Regions from separate parts of the Homo sapiens genome. Here region 1 is linked to region 2. Evidence: promoter capture Hi-C in human tissues and cell types (Jung and others, 2019). All regions are on one chromosome and are shown on one strand. The core of a region is centred on a gene start or on the middle of the fragment in contact, and the rest is flanking DNA. Distances in the headings are between cores, read along the strand shown. Region 1 has its middle 13 kb from the start of AK5. Region 2 holds the start of PIGK (phosphatidylinositol glycan anchor biosynthesis class K).

Region 1 (4,686 bases), core at 347-2,846, 50 kb before region 2:
ATGACTAACAGGACAGTGTGAAGTATTATGGGAGACCTTTTCCAGCTCCAGGTGACAAATAGTGTGGGGTTATAAGAGATAACACCTGATTGAGAATAAAATTACTGAAGTTTGTAGTGCTCAGTTTTAACAGAGGCCCTGTTCTTGGTAAGAGACTTCTGGTTTATTCCCAGGTGAAAGAAGCCAAACTGAACTGATGATCTTTACCAGTGAGAAAGATAAGAAGCCCCGGGGGACTGGGAGAGTAGAGTGTTTTAGGGATTATCTCCTCCTCTTTCATGGAGGAAAGAAGGAAACACTCAAATGCTTCCCTTTCTTGAAGCTGAAGGAAGGTAGGCCAAGAGATGCCCTCCTAAAGTTTGTGGACGGGCTGGCAGAAGAAAAGTCTGACATCTCTGCCGGGTGCGGTGGCTCACGCCTGTAATCCCAGGACTTTGGGAGGCCAACGCGGGCGGATCACGAGGTCAGTAGATTGAGACCATCCTGGCTAACACGGTGAAACCCCGTCTCTACTAAAAATACAAAAAATTAGCCGAGTGTAGTGGCGGGCGCCTGTAGTCCCAGCTACTCGGGAGGCTGAGGCAGGAGAATGGCGTGAACCCGGGAGGCGGAGCTTGCAGTGAGCCGAGATAGGCCACTGCAGTCCGGCCTGGGCGAAAGAGCAAGACTCCATCTCAAAAAAAAAAAAGAAAAGAAAAGTCTGACATCTCAAATCCTGGTGGTTGTCTGCGGACCCAGGGCTTGCTGTTCTGCCCTAGGGCTATTGGAGTGAGGGAGAGATCACTGGCAAGAGATGGTATCACTGTAGTAAGCCAGGTGGTCTGAGAGAAGAACTTTCCCTGCAAGCTCACTACTCCCAAGAGATACAGCAGAGAGTCTATGAGATGGGAGGGAGCACAGGCTTGCTGGGGATTGCTGCAGCATGAAAGGAAGGGGCCCTGCATAAAAAGGATGTAGCCTCATGCTAAATAGGTATTCTCCAACTGAGCAGGCCCAGTCTCACAAAGTACCACCAGTGACCATGGAGAGTTTTAGGGATCTGAGTCTGTTGGGTCCCCACTCATCCCATACTGAGACAGTAGGTCAGAAGCTGGATCAATGGTGAAAATCACAGAAAGGGGACAACAACTCTGCCACCACACTGGTGGAAGCAGTCATAAAAGAGCACAGTGGTTACATCCAGGAAAGACTGCATCAATCCAGTAACCCTGGGTAGTCTAGTAAGAATACATTCATCCCTTTCCCTTCCCTGAGATGAGGCAGAGTTAGTTGGGGAGACTGACCCCTAACTAAGCCAGTAGATTCCAGATCATGAATTGTATGAGCTTCAGATCTTGGGTTCTAATAGCTCTAGGTCAAGCAACAGCTAAACAAAGGACATCATCCAGCAGACCAGAGGAGGCAGAGGATCTGGTGTCTGAGAAGTTTTTTCTGTCACATCCTCACCAGGCCACATCTTGCCCTCATCACATGATGATGATTTCAGGAAGGGAGGCAAGGGAAGGCCGCCTAAGAGCTGATATATGTTTATCTAAGACTGAGTACTACCCAAATGGGTATTTAAATGATTATATGACACTAAGCTTTAAGACAATGAATGAGGGGTTCAGGGGAAGTCTAGAATGGTCATAAACAAAATAAAGTATGTATATTGATGTTGTATAGCTGGGTTTTCAAGTCTGGATTTCTGACTCCCTACACATTGAGTAAAGAAAAAATTGGATCACAAAAAGTCTGAATAATTACATTGTTTTAAGAAGCAATGTATTGTAGAAGTAGTGTGATGCAGAAAAACGATCTATGATAGAGCCTATTTTGAAATGAAGTAGAGCAGCTTCATTTCTCAGTTCTGTCACCTATTATGTATGTGGTCTTGGGCACATTGCTTAATCTATCTGCCTCAATTTCTTTATCTTTAGAAAAGATAAAATAATAGCTACCCTGTTGGATTGTATAAGGATTAAAAATAACGTGCACAGAGTTCAAATACAGTTCCTGACACACAAACAATGGCAATTACTATTAGTATGATTACTATATGCTGTGGCTGTGTTACTTTTCTTTTTCTTTTTTCCCCCACCTTTCTCGCAAGTCTTACTTTTTCTATAACAGGGAAGTCAGAATCTCTGGTCCCTGCTTACTATTTGCTTTGTATGAATAAGTTTTGATGAATCTCTTAGCCAATTTTCCTACTATATATTATAGACAGCCTGCATTGCCAAGAACCACACTGAGGTTAAAGTCTGTTTGTTATTGGTATTACTTTGTAGAATCTTTAAGCTAAAATATACTTCCTTAATAAATCATAGGTAAATAAATAAAAATAAAATGTGAAAATAAACTTTAGACATTAATGAAATCCTTGAGACTTGTTTTTTAGACAGTGGAAATGGAGAGATGAGAATTTTTTATTTAATTCTCAAAAGGTTGCCAATTAGATTATTTTTAGCTCCCAGTTCTCCTCCAAACTAGTAGGAGTATTTTGTCCTGAAACATCAAAAAATTATTTTAATTCCTTCTAAAGAGCTGAATAGGTACATGTCTAGATGGAAAAAGTATGGAGAAAACAGGCTATTTGTGAAAAGAATAACAAATAACAAGAATGTATTCCTAAAATAGTATAATTTACCAATTCTATAATCACGTAAATAACAAAGGATACTGAGATTTTGTTTCTGGTAATTTATTTTTCCTATTTATCCATAGCATTTCTCTACACCAAAAAAGATGTTTACTAACATCCATTAAATAAAAAACAGCAAAAACAAACATCATTCAAGCTTCTTAATTCAGGATGACATAATGTACGCAAACCCACACCATCGATATGAAAATAGAGAAGCTGTAAAGCATCCAGATATTTCCTATACCTAGATATCTATCGTTTATTATTTAAATAAAAATATTTCTGTCTGAATTTTCTTAGTTCAGATCTGATCTCCTAATCATGTGTACTCACAATTTCAATACTGCCCCGATGTTTCTGCTGCCTGTGATTACAATGACTCTCTTCTATGTTACAACTATAGCAATCATACTCCCGGATGTTCTGAGGCACCTGCAAATTCAAATGTTCTGTTGTCAGTCCCTCTTCCCCACTCATCTATGAGCACTGAGTGCTTTCTAGCTATAGGCTCTGCCTCACCTTGTCTTTTTGTCATATTTGCTTTTTTAAAAGCAGATGAAAAAAATCAGATGGAGTTCAGAATCAGTTGTTGATTTACATTATCAATATATGAATCATGTAGAAGTCTAATACTCAAATTAGCAATAAACTCAAGTGTCAGCAGAATAATACATCCCACATTTTTCTCTACCTCGCTGATGGTTCCTTTTTTGTTATTTCATTGCTTCCTCTTCATCTCCCTGACTGCTAATTGTGAAAGGCACCAGCACTCAGCCCTTGGACACCTTGTTTTTCTCTGTATGGACTTACTCCCTTTGTGATCTCATCCAGCCTCATGGCTTTATATGCCATCTATATGCCCTTAGTCTTTAGAAATTTATGTCCTCAGCCTAGACATTTACTCAAACTACAGAAACTCTTGTATACAATGCCTACTTGTTAATTCCACTCTAAAGTCTAATTGGCACCTCCAATTTAATATTCCTAAATCAACTTCCTGATCATCCCCTCTTCTCCTAGTCCTTATGAAGTTTTTTCCACCTCTGTTAATGGCAAGTGAATTCTGCCAGTTGCCTAGGCCAGAAGAAGTTTGGGGTTATTCTTGAATCTTTCTTTCATCACTCACATCCTGTTGACTGTAGCTTCAAAACGTATCCAGAATCTAACTTCTCTTCACCATCATCATTACCACCACCTTGATCCAAATACCATCATTTCTCACCTGCATTTTTGCAGTAGCCTCCTGCTGGTCTCCCTGCTTTCACTTTCTGCTGCCTGCCTCTATTCTCAACTCAGCAACTAGAGTGGTGCTGTCAAAAATTAAGTCCAATCCTGTCATTCTTTACTCAAAACCCATCACACATCAGAGAAAAACCCAAAATTATTTTACAGTGGCCAAAAGTGCCCTATGTAACCCACCCTTAAACACACACACACACACACACACACAACTATACTTCTCCACTCCTTTGTTCTAACCTCATGACCTATCTCCTACTATTCCCATCCTTCTCTGCCTTCTTCATTCTGCTTCCCTGTGATTCCCAGGTCCCTCCAGGTATGTTCTTTTCTCAGGGCCTCTCACTTGCTGTTTCTTCTGCCTGGACTGCTCTTCCCTCAAATTACCATGTGGTCTATTCCCTAACCTCCTCATGCCTTTGCTCTAATGTCCTCTTCTCGGTGGTTCCTTCCCTTCCTTGACAACCTTATTTTAAACTGTAAACCTCCTTTCCCTGACTGCCCCAGAACTTCCTATTCCTCTCTCCTGTCTTATTTTTCTATATACTGCTGATCACTACCTAACAAACTATACAGTTTGACAGTTTGTTGTTTATAGTTTCTATTGGATGGCCTTCTCCCAGTAAGAAGCTAAGTTCCAGGCCAGGCATGGTGGCTCATGCCTGTAATCCCAGCACTCTGGAAGGCTGAGGCAGGAGAATTGTTTGAGGCCAGGAGTTAGAAACCAGCCTGGTTAACATAGCAAGATCCTGTTTCTACATCCCACTCATCACCCTTTCTTCTCCATAGATCATTCAGCTTCATGTACAGCCCCTGTTGCC
Region 2 (4,624 bases), core at 1,178-3,677:
GATTGCTTTTGAAATGTGAGGACAGGAGATTTTGGAGGGGCCAGGGTGGAATGATATGGTTTGGCTGTGTCCCAACCCAAATCTCATCTTGAATTGTAGCTCCCATAATCCCCAAGTGTCAAGGGAGGGACCTGATGGGAAGTAATTTAATTATGGGATCAGTTACCCTCATGTTGTCATGGTAGTGAGTTCTCACGAGCTCTGATGGTTTTATTTATCTATCTATTTATTTATTTTTATTTTATTTCATTTTATTTTTTGAGACAAAGTCTGGCTCTGTTGCCCAGGCTGGAGTACAGTAGCGTGATCTTGGCTCACTGCAACCTCTGCCTCCCAGGTTCAAGCGATTCTCCTGCCTCAGCCTCCCTAGTAGCTGGTATTACAGGCATGTGCCCCCACACTGAGCTAATTTTGAAACATGGGGTTTTGCCATGTTGGCCAGGCTGGTCTTGAATGCCTGACCTCAGATGATCTGCCTGCCTCGGCCTCCCAAAGTGCTAGGATTACAGGTGTGAGCCACTGCACCTGGCCTCTGATGGTTTTATAAAGGGTAGTTCCTCTGCACATGCTCTCTCACCTGCTGCCATGTAAGATGTGCCTTTGCTCCTTCTTCATCTTCTACCATGATTGTGAGGCTTCCCCAGCCATGTGGAACTGTGAGTCCACTAAGCCTTTTTCTTTAGAAATTATGCAGTCTTGGGTATTTCTTCATAGCAGTATGAAAATGGGTTAATACAAGTAAAGTCTCATCAAAGTGTGGGTATGAAGTTACATCTGGTCATGAATTTGAGGCATAATCATTAATCTTGTCAGACATTATCTTATGTACAGGAAGAGGCAAGGGCTAGGATCACCAAACTTACCTTTTGTAAAAATTCAGTGATTCAGGCAAGAGATGTGCAAACCTATTCCCTATCCTGCTTATGGTCTTCAAGGCATTCTTCCACAAGGCTGCTCACAGTCAATGAGTCAGGGGCTTTGTGAAATATTGCTGGCAAAGGAGCAGAATGAGCAAATGGCTTCTTATCTTTGCTACTTTGTTTCATAATCATCAGCATCCAATAGATATCTGTTGAATTAATGAATACATGGAAGATATTCTGGCAGTGTATTTACTTTCTAGGATTCACGTAACGGAAAACCTAAATTTGACTAAATAGCATGAAACCTCTCACAAAGTGCAATAGCAAAAGAAACAAATAAAAGGAAAAGAGAGACAAGAGAATGGGAAAAGCAATAGCATAAAATATGGCAAAGGCTAATGTTACTTATTTATAAATATATTATTCAAATTCATATGCAAAACATAAATATATAAACAAAGAATTTACATCAGAGGACACAGAGATAGTTTAGAAACACAAGAAAGACATCAGATCTTGATAGTAACCAAAGAATTATAAGTATAGTTACCTAGGGGTAACATTTCATACCAAAGAATTTAAAGGAAAAAAAATGGTATGGTTTGGTGTTGTGTATTCTGATAGTGCTGTAAGCTTGTTCATTTTGGAAAGCAACATCATTTATAGTTATTAAAATGTTTTGGAATATTTTGACCCCAAATTCCTAGTTCAGGAAAATTATACAAACAAAATAATTCAACAGATTTAAAAAGCCAAACACACAAAAGATACTCTTTACAATATTATTTTCATAGTAAAACTTAAAAACTTTGCATTGTGCAGCAGAGGGACAATTACTTTGGCTGAGGCATCAATAATGGATGGAATTTTATCTCACCATTAAATGTTAAAATTGTGAGGAAGCAGCGTGGAAACGTTTATGTCATACTAGATGAAATGCATAAATTAAAACTGAACTCACATAATAAAGAGAATGGTGGACCATACATATACACCAGCTGTGTCTCTTCCAGATAGGCTTTAGTTCCATAATTACAGAAGATACTCAAGAAACAAAAACGTAACTAGCTTCCCATGTTAATCCTTTCACCAGGTAGTAGACCCCAAGCCTCTAAATTGCAGCGCCCACCCACATTTTCCATTTATAGTTTATCCAATTAATCATCTTTTTGTGCCAAAACGCTTGTTCTTCCCACCACATCCAGCTTCATATTTTCAAAGAATTGGCAGCACTCGGCAAAATAAATAAATAAATAAATAAATAAATAAATAAAATAAATAAGGGAACAGAGAAATAAGTTTTTAAAGTTTAAGGAGTTACGGGTTTTCCCTCCACTCACCTTTCAATTTTTTTTCTTAAATGTTATACCTATTTTACAACCTCCAAACTGAAAATGCAGTTAAAAATAAAAAGGTCAATATCCTGCGTCTACCTTGTCCCGGACTCTCGAGCTCCACAAAACCGCAGAGTTCTAAAGCCGGACCAGAGGGCCACCTCGAAGAGGCGCGGATGGTGTCGCAAAAACCCGCAGCGCTACTTTACGGCACTGCCTCCGCCCCTTCAGGTGCGGGAAGTCTGAAGCCGGTAAACATGGCCGTCACCGACAGCCTCAGCCGGGCTGCGACTGTCTTGGCAACTGTGTTGCTCTTGTCCTTCGGCAGCGTGGCCGCTAGTCATATCGAGGTAGGAGTCAGGCTCATTTGACCACAGCCGGGAGGCCGGCTGTGAGCCCTCCAGCAGATGTCCGATACACAGTAGCTGAGGGACGCCTCCTGGAGTCAATCAGCCCCTGACCCAGGCTGGGTTTGAGGAGGGTATCACTGGGCACGGGTTAGGACACTGTTGGTCTGTTTCAGCGTTTTAAAACGATGAATTGAAATAATCAAACCCTCGGAGACAGAGGAGGACCTGATCCTTTGCTCCTACATGTGTGCAGTTCTTAGGTGAAATACGAGCAAGAGGCTCGTGAAATGTCAGTGTGCAGCAACTGCTTTCCTACTACTCAACTGCAGCCCTCTGTTTTGATAGGAGTCAGACGGAACTGGAGAGATGAGGGCAATTTTAAGAATCCAGATAATAGAATTTAGTGATAATTAGAACATGGGATAAATATAAGTGTTTATTAAAACTCTCAAGTTTCTGGCTTAGGGGCAACACGTCTGGGTTAAGAAATGGAAGAGAAAAGGGGTGCTTAGTTTTATCCTGGGCTCCTCCAGCTTCCCATTTTTAAACGTGGACACAGGATGTTCTGGTGCTCTATAATGCTTTTACTATTCACCATACTCTGATGATTCCTCAGTCCCGGTCTACAATCTAGATGTCTGGTATCTTTTTCAGGCCTGCATATCCAGCTGACTAAGAATCCGGGATAGTCAGGAGACATTTGAAAATCCGTGTGCAAAGTTTTATCTTCTGCTTATCCTACCTCCTCTTAAAAAGACACTGAAAAACTAAGCACCCCTTTTCTCCTCCATTTCTCAACCAGATGTGCTGCTCCTAAGCTAGAAACCTGAGAGTCTTAATCTCTTTATCCCATATTCTAATTATCACTAAATTTTGTGATCTGAGTTCTTAAAATTGCCCTCACCTCTCCAGTTCCACTGACTTAATTCAGGCTGTGATCACTTCTTGTCTAGACTCTTGCGATTACTTTATCTTGTTTTCCATAGGCCTCCATACTCCCTGAGTTTGGTGCTAGATTCGTCTACACGAAATGTAAGCCTGATCAGGTTATTCTTCTGATGAAATCTTTTAAATATTTATTAATTGCATACAGAATAAAGTCTAAACGTTATGACCTGGTGCTTGCCTACTTTTCCAGTGTTCCATATTGGAACCTCTTCTCCCCACCACCTGGGCACCTTGAGCTTAGACCAGTGGACTCCAAACTTTTTGAATACACACCCTATCAGTTAAAAAAAGATATTGAGCATGAACTTCATATATATTTATGAATTACTGTTAATTTATATATTTGATGTTTATATAGCATAATTTTTAGAGAACATAAATATGAGTAAATAGAAGTTCTGTTTCCCTCCTTTATTCTAACTTTGACTGCTTCATCTTGGATACTATTACTGTTTTTTGTAGTTACATAATTGCTGTGCTTTTTCACATTACAATATTTTATACATTGTGTTTCCTCTGTTCATGTGCTAAGATACAGTAAAGGCATAACCTCTGTAGAACGTTTCCCTATCTCTTACCTTTGCCTTTACTCTTGTAATTTGTACACTTGATACAGCACTCATTTACTATAACCCGTGTATGGTTTGTACTGTTATTCCATCATATCTCACTTAGAGATAGGAGCAACAGTTTCCTAAATGTTTTGCCTTGAGTCGTTGTTTTTTCCTTTCAATCTGTTCTCCAAATTGAAGCCAGAGTAACTTTTAAAAATGCAGTTCCAATCATGTCACCCAGGGACCTTGATGTTGCTCAAAAGATCACCTTAATGTTGCTCTAAACTCTCCACCATGACCCACAAACAAAAACCCTGCATATTTTTTGGGCCCTGACTACACTTCAAATTTTTTCTTTCTCTTTCAAACTTCTAGTTAGGCTAACTTTCTTTCAGTTTCTCAAAACCTTTAAGCTTTTTCTCACATTAGAGCTGTCTCCCCTCTGTCTGGAATTGTATTTCCTCTTTTCTTCATCTTTTGGATTTTAACCCAACAGTCACTTCTTTAGGAAAACTTTCCTGACCAGGTCAGGTCCCTCTGTTGTACTCTTATTATATTGTGTGTCTTTCCTTATC

The links. The method cuts DNA at HindIII sites, captures the fragments that hold promoters and counts their contacts. A contact is called where the count stands out against the background at its distance.
Region 1: a contact is called between a fragment that was not itself captured here and the fragment with the promoter of PIGK in region 2, in 1 of the 25 tissues and cell types used here (dorsolateral prefrontal cortex).

Annotation. Positions count from the first base shown.
Region 1 is chr1:77,266,369-77,271,054 of GRCh38, reverse strand. No RefSeq gene overlaps it. Among named protein-coding and RNA genes, the nearest start is that of AK5, 13 kb to the left of the region's middle. The HindIII fragment of the contact is 4,816 bases long and covers 1-4,004 here.
Region 2 is chr1:77,217,233-77,221,856 of GRCh38, reverse strand. It overlaps PIGK (phosphatidylinositol glycan anchor biosynthesis class K), which reads left to right and starts at 2,427. Exons shown (of 11, transcript NM_005482.3): 1 at 2,427-2,547. The coding sequence starts at 2,455. It overlaps LOC105378808 (a long non-coding RNA gene), which reads right to left and starts at 2,337. Exons shown (of 3, transcript XR_001738109.2): 1 at 2,204-2,337; 2 at 864-1,069. RefSeq lists an enhancer at 2,634-2,743. The HindIII fragment of the contact is 8,221 bases long and covers 1-4,624 here.